2 separate regions of the Homo sapiens genome follow, and region 1 is linked to region 2. The links are contacts of gene promoters, found by promoter capture Hi-C in blood cells and fetal thymus (Javierre and others, 2016). All regions are on one chromosome and are shown on one strand. Each heading gives the region's core, a stretch centred on a gene start or on the middle of the fragment in contact. The rest is flanking DNA. Distances are from core to core; before and after follow the strand shown.

Region 1 (6,205 bases), core at 3,706-6,205, 110 kb after region 2:
ATGCCATCCCTGGATGGGAAGGGAAAATTGTAGCTTGGGTGGAAGAAGACCATGGAGAGAATTAATGCCAAGTATCAGATTGAGGGCTTATGGAACCTGGTCACTCCCTGGCTGCTTCACTCAGGAAAGGGAACTAAAACCAGAATACACTAAGAAGTTTCTAGTTTGTGTGCCAAAACAGAAGCTTCTCCAAGCATGATGGCCACAGGTCAGTCCTCTTTCTGTGCCTGGCATATCTGGTACTTAAAATTCTGTCCAAATGTAGACCATGGGTTCATCTGGAGTTCCTTGTCCGTGGGAACACAGTGTTCTATTCTACTCTGAGGACAACAAACCGAAGGCCTTAAACGATGGGGATGGATGATCCCGCCTCTGTAGGGGCATGGCTGCTATTATCTGGAAATTAGGAATTGGATGCATCATTCCTGTGTGTTACAGTATTATTTTAATTGGCCTCAATGGTTGCAGCAATCAGAGTCCCAGCGTTTGTACTCACAGACAAGGCAAAGGTACCAGCTTTTCTGTTTCTTTGAACCTACTGCAAACCAAGAATAACTCATGAGGTGGTACCAAAGATGAAAGCCCAGACTTCAGTAATCTTTTGAACCAGACGTGGATGGTGCTGAATTGTTGCTTGGATGGAAAAAGGGCTGCCCATGTTGTGCTACACTATGCTAAAACTGTAATTTAGTAAGACCTTGGGCTGCCTCTTCTGTCTTAACTGGTTCTGCAGCTTGTCCTTTTGCCCACATAGGGCCTATTTCATGTACTGTTAGTTTTCTCTGGGGACTCTTTAACTTTAGAGCCATTTCTTTTTCTTCAAACTGATGAACTTTTGTTTGAAAGGCATAAGGAGTGAAAAGCTCCTTGAAAATCCAGGCGGGTATGGAAAGGTGCTGCTACCCATATCTTTTTGACTTTCTTTGTTTCATGACTTTAACTCATGGCATCTCCTTTGTAGTAAAAGGAGACAGACCATTAATTTCAGCATTTCTTTGTGATTTATAAGTACTGAGCATGAAGTACTTGTCTGCCCCTCATTTCAAGGCCAGAGTTATTTTCTATTTATGTATTAGTCTAGGCTGATCTTTTAGGGCACAATAGAAACCATGGGGCGTGGAGCATGAGTTGTGAATGGCAGGGATCATTCTGGGTAAAAAAAACCTAGAATCATTTCTGATGTGCAACATTGTCAAGTGAAGAAGCTAACAGTTCAACTACCGAGATTATTTGATAACCTGGGTTTTCTCATTCATCCATCAAGCACCATCAACCAGTCAGCCATTATTATTTATATATGTATTACCAAAAGCAGTCTATCTGCCTGTGACCTCCAATGTACACTGCCAAACACAAGAGTAGGACACATCTGTTCTGGGTTCTTGACCTATCTGTCTCCAATTCATCTCCCCTTTTCAGCCATTTCAACAAACTACTCTTTGGAGCTCTGAGATGACATCTTGTTGTTTTATATAGATGTATCTTTTAAAAATAGTTCACGTTTGGAGAATTCTTTTGTACTCATTTGCTTTTTGTCTGAGAACCATGTCTATTTTTATAACTGGAGTGTGAGTTCTGTATCTTCTCACATTCTGTATACTGTATCCATTTTCTAGAGAACCCAGTAGCTTTTATACAGTCTCTTCTTACCACCCCTTGTGGTTTCAGAACAAGCTTTATTTTATTACGAGTATATTAATGACAACTAATTCCTGTTCCAATTCTACCTGTTTTAGTTGTGAAGGTAGTTTTGTGTAATCCAGTTGATTGCTCCTCTGGCAGAGAGAAGGAGCTCAAAAGATACTTGATGTCTTTCATGTAAGTTTACCTGGTCTTTTCCTATTGAAGAATTTTTCATCAGAAACGACTGGGAAAGTTTGGGAAAGTCAGCAAAAGAAAGAATGCATTTCGAAAGCAAACAGAAGAAAAAAGTATATTCTCACAGTTTTTCCCCAGGAAGTCTGGAGAAAAAGTCCTCATGTCACCAATTTCTCTGTTGCATGAATTTTAGTGTTTTGCTATAAGACAGCATGAGGGCTATCAGGCCAAAATTCATTATTGTATTTCCAATACAGTTTGTCTTGAATGTCTGTCTCTTAAACCAGTTTTTACTTGTCAGTTTTCTCTCAGCAAACAGTCTTACTATTATGTGGAATTTAACTTTTCAGAGAAAATTTCCAAAGTCCTCTACCTTATTTGGCTTTTATCTGTGTCTTTTGGAAAAGGAGCTGCATGGCCTCAGTGCCTCCATAAAAAGCTTAAGTTGAGTTCATGGGAGAACATTAAGATCGTTTTTTTTCCCTTTTAGCTCGGTAATCTCATGTACCACAGGTAATGACCAAGCATCTCTGCTAGAGGATGTAACTCTCATAACTCCTGTGTAAAATGAGGATCCTGTTGGTGATCCTCATTCCAGTTTCCAAAGCGAGAGGAGCCTTCTGAGCAGAAGTATGCAAGACTGATTCTGTTTGGAACAGTTTCCTATTTGGCTGCATTCTAGGAGGCCTCCTGACTTATTCATAGTATTGTCGCCTGGTGGCATTGGTGTGGGGTAGCTTGTCCTGCTACTTGCTAAAGTTCTCTTTCTTTGAGAAAACTGAGGAACCAGAATGCTTAGAGTTCATAAAATAATCTCTAAACCATGTTAGGTTAAAACAAAATGACCATCTCACAAAAACGAGTTTAGTTGAATGCTCAATTCCTTACAAAATCTTCATTTAAGGCTGAGTGTGGTGGCTCATGCCTGTAATTCCAGCACTTTGGGAGGCCGAGGCAGGAAGACTGCTTGAGCCCAGGAGTTCAAGACCAGCCTGGGCAACGTAGGAAGACTCCGTCTCTACATAGAAATTTTATTATAAAAGTAGCTGGGGATGGTGGCACACACCTGTAGTCCCAGCTACTCAGGAGGTTGAGGTGGGAAGATTGCTTGAGCCCAGGAGTTTGAGGTTGCAGTGAGCTGATCATGCCACTGCACTCTAGCCTAGGCTACAGAGCAGGACCCCATCTCCAAAAAAAAAAAAAAAAAAGTCATTTAAAAACTGAAGAATGTTCTCTTCTTGCTCAGTTCCCTAAATTAGCTGGGGGGATTGGGATACTTTACAATTTTTACATTTTTAAATTTGAAGAATTTGTTTTAAACTTACTTGGTAATGGCACTTCTACTTACTGACCAACTTTTCAGCTCTTTTTGACCAGGATGGTTGCAAATTAGGGAAAATATCTTTATACTATACATCCAATTCAAGAGGACTTTAATTACTTAAAAGCATTTAGGTCATAATTAAAATTATTTTCACTGTTTCCATAAAATAAGCATTATGATTGCACACTCCTTCTACTGTCTGAATTTATGTAAGAGGTATAGCTTGCTTAAAATACATATATATGTAAAGTTATATTTTCTTAGAAACATGGATGTTTACAGCCATTGCTTTCAAAGAGATTATTACTGTGTATTCTCCCTGTTTTACAATATGTTTTCATGAAGACTATGTTACACCAGAGGCTTCTGATTATCAAAGTGATAACCAGTTTTAACTGCCGGTATGTACCAGATTTGTGAACTAATTTAAAAAACCACAAACTATGAATAAAATGGGGTTTGCAAACTAAATATCATTAATGATTTTCACTTGCGTTTACTGATGAGATTAATCAATAAAGCCATTTACATTTAGTGAAAGCAAATTTCCTCAAGTGATCTCCCTGGTAGCATGTTTACTCACTATGTGGAGTGGAGATAAGAATTACTTTATTGCTACAGATATTTTACAATTAGTATTTCTATGTAAGCACATAGGCTATTATCAAGGACAATTTATTTAGCACTTATTTTGAAATTATATGTAAACATGCAAACAAATAAGAACCCAAGAGTATAAACTCTATGACAAAAGTCAGTATGCAAGCATTAAGAACTCTTTCAGAAATGTGTATTTAAAATGACCAGAATTCCCAGATCATTTGAAAGCTGCCTCTTAAATGCCTCTTATCAATTCATCTTAAATGTTTGCTATATTAAATTCTTTATCCCTGAGTGCCTTCATTTGACTTCCAATTACGTATTTTCAACTATTAATTGGCTATCCCATTATGTTAAAATTAAATATGTACATAACTCAAAATCTTTCACTACCAACTAATTTCTGTTTCTCTCAATATCAGTGATATCACCATTCTCTTAAGTATCTCTATTTCAAACCTTTGAGTCTTGAGTCTCCTTTTCCATAATTTCCTTTATCCAGTCTGTTTAGTGGAATTCAAGCTTGTTCTCTCAGGACTGATTTGAGAAACCTAAGCATTCCTAGCCCACCTCTGGGGTAAGCTCGCCATCTCTGGACTGTTTGAGCTATGCATTCCTATAATTTAACTACACTTAAGTCAAAAGTATATTCAAGACACAAACTCGCTATTCTTTGAAAAATGCAAAACAGGGTTTAAGCAAGCATACCTAAGTGCACAACAGATCCGGAAGATCACCTCATACTTTATACCAAAGTCTAATTTAGATCCAGTTATTAAGTTCAAATGCAGCAAAAGCAGCAAGATATTTTAGCCAACTCAAAAACATTTTTATAATAATTTATAAGTCCTGGGCGGGCATGGTGGCTCGCGCCTGTAATCTCAGCACTTTGGGAGGCCGAGGCAGGTGGATCACCTGAAGTCAGGAGTTTGAGACCAGCATGACTAACATGGTGAAACCCCGTATCTACTAAAAACACAAAATTAGCTGGGCATGGTGGCACGTGCCTGTAATCCCAGCACTCGGGAGGCTGAGGCAGGAGAATCGCTTGAACCTGGGAGGTGGAGGTTGCAGTGAGCCGGGATCATGCCACTGCACTCCAGCCTGGGCGACAGAGTGAGACTCCATCCCCAAATAATAGTAATAAGTCCTTTCAGTAATTACAATTATTCTTTCATTGCTTCTTCCAATTGTTAATTCATAAGTTGTACATAATTGTAACAATATAATTGCTCTCTTCATATTATTTAAAATATGCCTTTTCATTCAATCTAGAAATTTTATATTTCTCAATTATATTGCTTACATATTATTCTGATAGACAGCTGTACCTGCTTAAACATTCCAATTTAAGTAGGCATGAAATAGTACATCCAATCTGTTTTAGTTTTCCAAATTAATTGTTAGCAAGATTAGCCCCCATTTTTTTTTTTTTTTAACAGATGGGAGTCTCATTATGTTGCCCAGGCTGGTCTCAAACTCTTGGGCTCAAGTGATTCCCCCACCTCAGCCTCTCAAGCATTGCTGGGACTACAGGCATGCACCACCGCTCCTGGCTAAAATCTTGTTTTAAGTTTCTTCCCTCCAACTTCCTCTTGCGTTCTTGGTGTTCTCTAACCATCTCTACAGGGGGGAGGTGGTGATACACAGCACATGCTTCCTCCTTATCTAATGTCACCTTCAGTTCAGAAACGATATGTTTTCTAATTAAAAGACAACTTTACAAGAGAAGCGTGCCTAACAAAATGTGTAGATGACTTTTTATTCATTGATTCAAAAGACATACATTCAGCCCCCGCTATTTACTGGATATTAAGCTCTGGGGCTACATGGAAGGACCACGCAGACACTCTTCATGCCTTCAACGGCTTACAGTTAAGTTTTTCAAACATTTGAAACATAACGAAGCTTTTGGTTACTTAAAAGAATTCTATGGTATTAGGGAGCAACACCTGTTTTGTAAACCTATATCTTCATACAGGGAATATGCTTAATCTTGCTACAGTATACATGAATGCGGGAATGTATCTTCCTCTGGGCTGCCTTTCGTTACCACTTGGCTGGGTGGAACACCTGTTCACTCCACTTTCCACTTGGGCTACAAACCTGAAACGAAATCTTTGCAACCAGTACAGCCTGCGCGGGGCGCGGCCCAGTCCATCCCCCTTCGGATGCGCAGAAGCAGAGGTCACCACGCCGGACCCCTCGATTCCCTCGCGGGCGATTCCTGGCTCCTTCACCACCCCAGCACTCCAAGACCCCCGCCCTTTGGCCTGAGGCTCCCACTGCCCTAGCCAGTTCCCGGGCTCACTTCCAGCTTTTCCAGAAAGCTTGGCCACGCCCCTCGGCCCAGACTCTCAGGCCACTCGGCCGCAATTAACCCGCGTCTCTGCGCCTTTTTAGGCCCCTCCCCCTCGGTCGTGCCCTTGTCATCTCTTAGGCCCCGTCTCACCCTTTCGGATG
Region 2 (6,152 bases), core at 1-2,500:
CCAGTAAGGACTCTCCCGTCCTAGCTGTGGGGAGACTCACCTCTGAGAGTCCAGTGTCAAACCAGCTGGGTGCCCGCAGGAAGGAGGGTGGCCGAAGGTAGAAGGGACTCAGGGAAGTAGACGTCGGGAAAAGATCAGACTCCAACAGGTGCTCTCCGAAGAACTGGTCAAAGAGGCGGCTGGGGGAGTGGAAAGGAAAGAAGGGGCGGCGGATCCAGGGGTGGTGGATGGCGATGTCCATGGTGGCTAGGTGAGTGTGAGGGGTCAGCTGGCTGGTCAGCTCCTTCAGCTGCAGCTACAGCCAGCCCCTTATATATGCAGTCTTGTGAAGCTTCTGGAATGGTGATGTCAGGGGTTTTATTATCCTAGCTCACCAGCAGTTCATGGAGACTTGTGATCCGGGATTTGGCAATGTGACACATACCCAGTACTCACTGAGCTAAGAAAAGAGAGACACAAACACGTCTGAGCCGGCCAGTGACTTGTCATGGTCTTGTTTCACTAGCTTTCTGTCCACACCCAATGGCACCCACCCCCACCCCTGTTCTCTGAAGCTGGTACAGAGTCAGGAATCCCAAGCAGGCACGCGGGGTGGGGGGAGGATGGGAGCCGGCGTAGTGTGCCCCTCCTCCTCCTTTCCAGTCCTGAATGCCAGGGGAATCAGGCCAGCAACTATCTTGGGCCTGGGCAGGGACTGGAATCTTCCTAGGCTGAGCCCCAGGGACATTAACTCTTTGTGAGTCCTTGGAAGAGAGCAGTGATGGTCAACATGTCAGCACCAGCCATCTGCCTCGTGCCCTGGGTTGACCTGGGTTTAGGAGAGGATCCCACATCTGGGCAGAAAGACCCCACCCCCTGAAAAAAGAGCAAACAGATTTCTTGCATCTTTCGTTCTATGTGGCTCTCAGAACATTAAATCCAGGAGTGCTTTAGGAATTGGGTGCACAGTGCCTGCCACCGAAGAGGAGAAAATGAGGTGTGGAAACGTGCAAACCGTTTGTGAGGGTCTCAGCGAGGCCTCTTCATGCCCCAGGCACCACCAGCTCCCCCTCCCCAGCTCGTTCCCAGCCAGGACCCTCAGCTGTCCTCTCAGGCCCCCTGCGACAGCTGAAGAGTGTGCGGGGGAGGGGACTAGGGGTCCGGGCGGCGCTGGTCACACCCTCGTTGCTCTCACTCAGGGCCCCCACTCCCAGCCCCTCCCCCCCCAAGAGGCTCGGCACTATTTTGGGTGGTGTCGACCCCGCCCCCACCTCCTATCGAGCCCTGGCTCTCCGGGCAGCTGGAGGGGTCGCGCTGCGCCTGTTGGGGCTGCACCTCGGACCAGGGCTTCTGCTGCATCTGCAGCCATGTCGGGCCGCTCAGTGCCACATGCCCACCCGGCCACCGCCGAGTACGAATTTGCCAACCCGAGCCGCCTGGGTGAGCAGCGCTTCGGAGAAGGTATGGCACAGACACCACCCCCTTGCCCCCCACCCCCACCCCCTGAAATTCTGGGCTGACCTCCCAACGTTGCTGGCCTCCACCCCACTCTGGGCTTAACTGATCTCCTGGGACCAGCCACCCCCCACCCCAGACTACCCCTCATCCCCTCCAAGCAGAGATCTTTCCCATTCCTGCTGACCTCAAGACACACTTGGTGCTTGCAGTGCTGATACCTGCTCTTTGCCGGCCTGGGTGTGCCTCCTTGTCCCCCTTCTATCCACCCAGGCCGTTTGGTGCCTCCTCCTCCTCCCCCTCCTCCTCCTTCTCCTCCTCCTCCTCCCTTTCCTTTCCGTTCTCTTTCCCCTCTTCCGAGCTGCCTTCTCCTCCTAGCTACAGTGTGGCCTCCCTCCCGTTCCCTACTCCTCCTGACTCCCCTCTTGCTCTTCCCAATCCCTCCTCTCCAGATTTCCCATTTCGCCCCTGTGCCAGCCTCATCCTCCCTCATCCTGCCTCTTGCCTTCTCTCTGCCCTTTAGGCCTCCTGCCAGAAGAGATCCTGACCCCCACACTCTACCATGGCTACTATGTCCGGCCTCGGGCCGCCCCAGCTGGGGAGGGCAGCAGGGCAGGGGCCTCCGAGCTTAGGCTCAGTGAGGGCAAGTTCCAGGCATTTCTGGATGTGAGCCACTTTACCCCAGACGAGGTGACTGTGAGGACTGTGGATAACCTGCTGGAGGTGTCTGCCCGGCACCCCCAGCGCCTGGACCGCCACGGCTTCGTGTCCCGAGAGTTCTGCCGCACCTATGTCCTGCCTGCTGATGTCGACCCCTGGCGAGTCCGAGCTGCTCTCTCCCATGATGGCATCTTAAACCTGGAAGCACCTCGGGGTGGCCGACATTTGGACACAGAGGTCAATGAGGTCTACATCTCCCTGCTCCCTGCGCCTCCTGATCCAGAGGAAGAGGAGGAGGCAGCCATAGTTGAGCCCTGATTGCCACAGACCCAGCACCCAGCAAATCCCTCTCTACCTCCCAAGGTGATATGGGCAGCTGCCCACCACTCCAGAGGTAGCAGCATCCTTGGGGGAAGGGAAAGGTGCATGGTCCACAATGTATGGTTTGGTCCCATGGGACATGTCATAGCCTTGGTTTAGTTTTGGGTGGAGCTGAATAAACCCAAATCTCAGGGCCTTGTTTGTACTGCTCCCTATTCTGTGGCCGGGAAGCTGGGATGGGGAGGGAGGGAGGAGGTCACAGCCAGCTAGACAAAAAGCTCCTCAGTTTGATGTGCCCAACGTCATAGGACCCTGAGCTCGCACTTGGATGCTGAGATCACACCCGGAAGCTGACTCTGGCTCCAGATCAAATTCCTAGCCATAATTTTCTCACAATGCAACAAAAGAGAGAGTGATCCTGGGAGGGAAAAGGGATATGCCATCCAAACAGCCCAGAGGGCACTGTCTGAGCTGGTGATTAGAGACACAAAAACAAGGGTCTCCAGACTGTCTGGCCCTTTTTGGGTAGGGGCTGGGAAAATGGTTTTTGGCTGGTGAGAGTTGCCTAAAGTCCTGGAGTGAATACTTTGTTTTCATGTACTAAGGTCTGTCCACTTAAATGGTCACTGATTTTGAGAGCCTGAGTATGCATACACAGGGCACAGACACAAAGCCTCTCCAATTATCACGGAACCCCATTACCTTCCCATCCTCTGGGGGTACGGTGTATTCAGGAAAGCCTGAGGTCTGTCCCCTCAGTTATTCTCTGCAATCAAGAGAACATCCAGCTACATGATTTGGGGGAAGTGTCCAAAAGACCTTCCTGCCTCCAAATACATATTTCATTAGGCTGTGGTAGATACCTACAATTCTTCCATTAAAGCAGTTGTTTCTTGGCTGGGTGCAGCAGCTCACACCTGTAATCCCAGTACTTTGGGAGGCCGAGGCAGGAGGATCACTTGAGCCCAAGAGTAAGAGACCAGCCTGGGCAATAGAGTGCAACCTTGTCTCTACAAAAAAATAAAAATTAGCCAGGCATGGTGGTGCATGCCTGTAGTCCCAGCTACTTGGGAGGCTGAGGTGGGAGGATGAGCTAGGGAGGTTGAAGCTGCAGTGAGCTGAGATTGCGCCACTGCACTCCAGCCTGGGTGACAGAGTGAGACCCTGCCTCAAAAAAATTAAATTGAATTGAATTAAATTAAGTGGTTGTTTCTTAACTTTTGGGAGTTATAGACCCTTCTGAAAATCTGACAAAAGCTATAGCTGCTCTTACCAGAAAAATACATATGCTCCCAAATTTGGCAATACAATTTGAATAGGTTCCCACAACTCTTAAGACCCATTCACATACCCCCCTTAGGGATCTGTGGACCTCCAGGATAACAGAACTCACTTGAGGAATTCGACTTTTGGTTAAAAGATTGCTGTCTATTAAAAATGAAAGCATGCCCCAGAGAAATAACATTTGACATATTTAACTGTTCATTCATTCATTCAGTAAATATTTATCAAACCTCATGTAATACACCTTGGGGGATATACATTGTAAATATAAATTATAAAAACTATTAGCTTTTATTGTCAACTTTCCAGAATCTAGTTGAGAAGAAAAATAATAAGAAAAGGATTCTACTTAGACTTCAACCAAAATAGCTTCACATTGATATGTTTTGTAACTGAGCTTTATTTAAAGGAAAGGGTTTCCTAGCTATAAGAAATTTGAAAACTTCTGATTTAGTCCAAATCCCCTCTCCATTCAAATGCTTTTAAAGTTATTAATCAACTTATTCGGGGACATTCTGAATAACAGACAACTTAGAACTTCTCACGGTAGTCGTTTCCATGTTCTTTCTTTTCTTTTTTAGACAGGGTCTTGTTCTGTTGCTCAGGATGGAGTGCAGTGGCATGATCATGGCTCACTGCAGCCTCAACCTCCCTTGCTCAAGCAATCCTCCTGCCTCAGCCTCCTGAGTAGCTGGGACTACAGGTGTGTGCCACCACGCCTGGCTAATTTTTTACTTTTTCTGGAGATGAGGTCTCGCCTTGTTGTCCAGGCTGGTCTTGAACTCCTGGACTCAAGCAATCCTCTATCCTTGGTCTGCCACAGTACTGGGATTACAGGTGTGAGCCTCTGTACCTGGCCTTCCATTTTCTTTTTGGTCTTAACTGACTTAACCGTTATAAATTCCTCCTTTTGTTGAATCAAAATCTGCATTTCAGTAACTTCTCTGGAAAACAAACACAATGGTTTTTTCACTGAAAATCCTTCTGATATTTAAAGATAACCATCCTGTCTTCCTGAGGCTTCCCTTTCCCAGCTAAACATGCCTAGTTCTTTTTTTTTTTTTTAAGACAAAGTCTCTCTCTGTCACCGAGGCTGGGTGTACAGTGGTGTCATCTCCCCTCACTGCAACCTCCTCCTCCTGGGCTCAAGCAATCCTCCCACCTCAACCTCCTGAGTAACTGAGGCTACAGGCATGCGCCACAACACCTGGCTAATTTTTTGTAGAGACTGGGTTTCGCCATGTTGTCCAGGCTAGTCTTGAACTTCTGGCCTCAAGCAATCTGCCCACCTCGGCCTCCCAACACATTGGGGTTACAGGCGTGAGCCACCACACCCAGCCATGCCTTGTTCTTTCAACCATATCATACAGCACTTTCCACATCACATATTACCCAGATAACTTTATTTTGAACATACTGCCTTTTGACAACGTAACTTGAAATTCAACATCTAGACCTAAAATTATTATTCCAGTCATGGATTGACTGGTACAGACTTCAGTGGAATAATCAATATCCTTGTTTATCACTTCAGGCTTCTATTAATGCTGCTTTAGGCATATGAGGTTTTCTGGCTACCACAATGGTCTATTCCTCTATTGATTTCTTTGGAGTTTCTGGTCATCTAAAAATCCCTTAGGTGATTTCCTTTCCTTTTCTTTTCTTTTCCTTTTTTTCTTTTCTTTTTTTTTTTAGAGACAGAGTCTCACTCTGTCACCCAGGCTGGAGTAAAGTGGTGTGATCACAGCTCACTGCACCCTCAAACTTTCTTGCTCAACCCTCCTACCTCAGCCTTCTGAGTAGCTGGGACTACAGGCACACATCACCACACCTGGCTAATTTTTCAGTTTTTATACTTTGTAGAGATGATGGGTTGTTGCTATATTGCCCAGGTTGATCTTGAACTCCTGGGCTCAAGCGATCCTCTTGCCTCAGTCTCCCAAAGCAGTGGGATTACAGGCATGAGCCAAGCCACTGTGTAAACCCAGCTGCTTAGGTGCTTTTTAAAACATTACAGAAGGGGTGACTAAAAAGGAACCAGATTATGGAGGGCTTGGAGTGCCAGGCTAAGCAGTTTGAACTGTATCCTGTAGGTGATAGGAAATCATTAATGGCTTTTGAACTGGGAGGAGAAGGAGTGGGTAACAAGATGAAAAGGATACAGTTAATGGTAGAGTAGAGTACAGAATGGATTGCATGGAAGAAGCATGGCCATGAAATAGTGCAATGATTGGGGCACAAGAAAAGAAAGTAAGATGTGGGAACCAGGCGTGGTGGGAGGGTCACTTCAGGCCAGAAGTTCAAGTCCAGCAGGGGCAACATAGCAAGACCCTATCTTGGCCAGGTGTGGTGCCTCACACCTGTAACCCCAGCACTTTGGGAGGCTGAGATGGGAGGATTGCTTGAGGCCAGGAGTTCGAGACCAGCCTGGTCCACATAACAAGACCCCCATC

The links. Contacts are between HindIII fragments. The CHiCAGO score rates a contact against its expected background, and 5 or more counts as called.
Region 1: a contact is called between a fragment that was not itself captured here and the fragment with the promoter of HSPB2 in region 2, in 8 of 17 cell types (megakaryocytes, total CD8 T cells, activated CD4 T cells and 5 more). The highest score is 9.0, in megakaryocytes.

What each region holds. Positions count from the first base shown.
Region 1 is chr11:112,018,972-112,025,176 of GRCh38, forward strand. It overlaps DIXDC1 (DIX domain containing 1), which reads left to right. Exons shown (of 20, transcript NM_001037954.4): 20 at 1-3,682. The coding sequence ends at 65. Among named protein-coding and RNA genes, the nearest start is that of DLAT, 3.3 kb to the right of the region's middle. RefSeq lists an enhancer at 5,399-5,588. The HindIII fragment of the contact is 1,386 bases long and covers 4,263-5,648 here.
Region 2 is chr11:111,911,484-111,917,635 of GRCh38, forward strand. HSPB2 (heat shock protein family B (small) member 2) reads left to right here and starts at 1,251. Exons shown (of 2, transcript NM_001541.4): 1 at 1,251-1,440; 2 at 1,958-2,610. The coding sequence starts at 1,347. The coding sequence ends at 2,412. It overlaps CRYAB (crystallin alpha B), which reads right to left and starts at 287. Exons shown (of 3, transcript NM_001289808.2): 1 at 41-287. The coding sequence starts at 241. It overlaps HSPB2-C11orf52 (HSPB2-C11orf52 readthrough (NMD candidate)), which reads left to right and starts at 1,253. Exons shown (of 5, transcript NR_037651.1): 1 at 1,253-1,440. RefSeq lists an enhancer at 2,002-2,655. The HindIII fragment of the contact is 6,880 bases long and covers 330-6,152 here.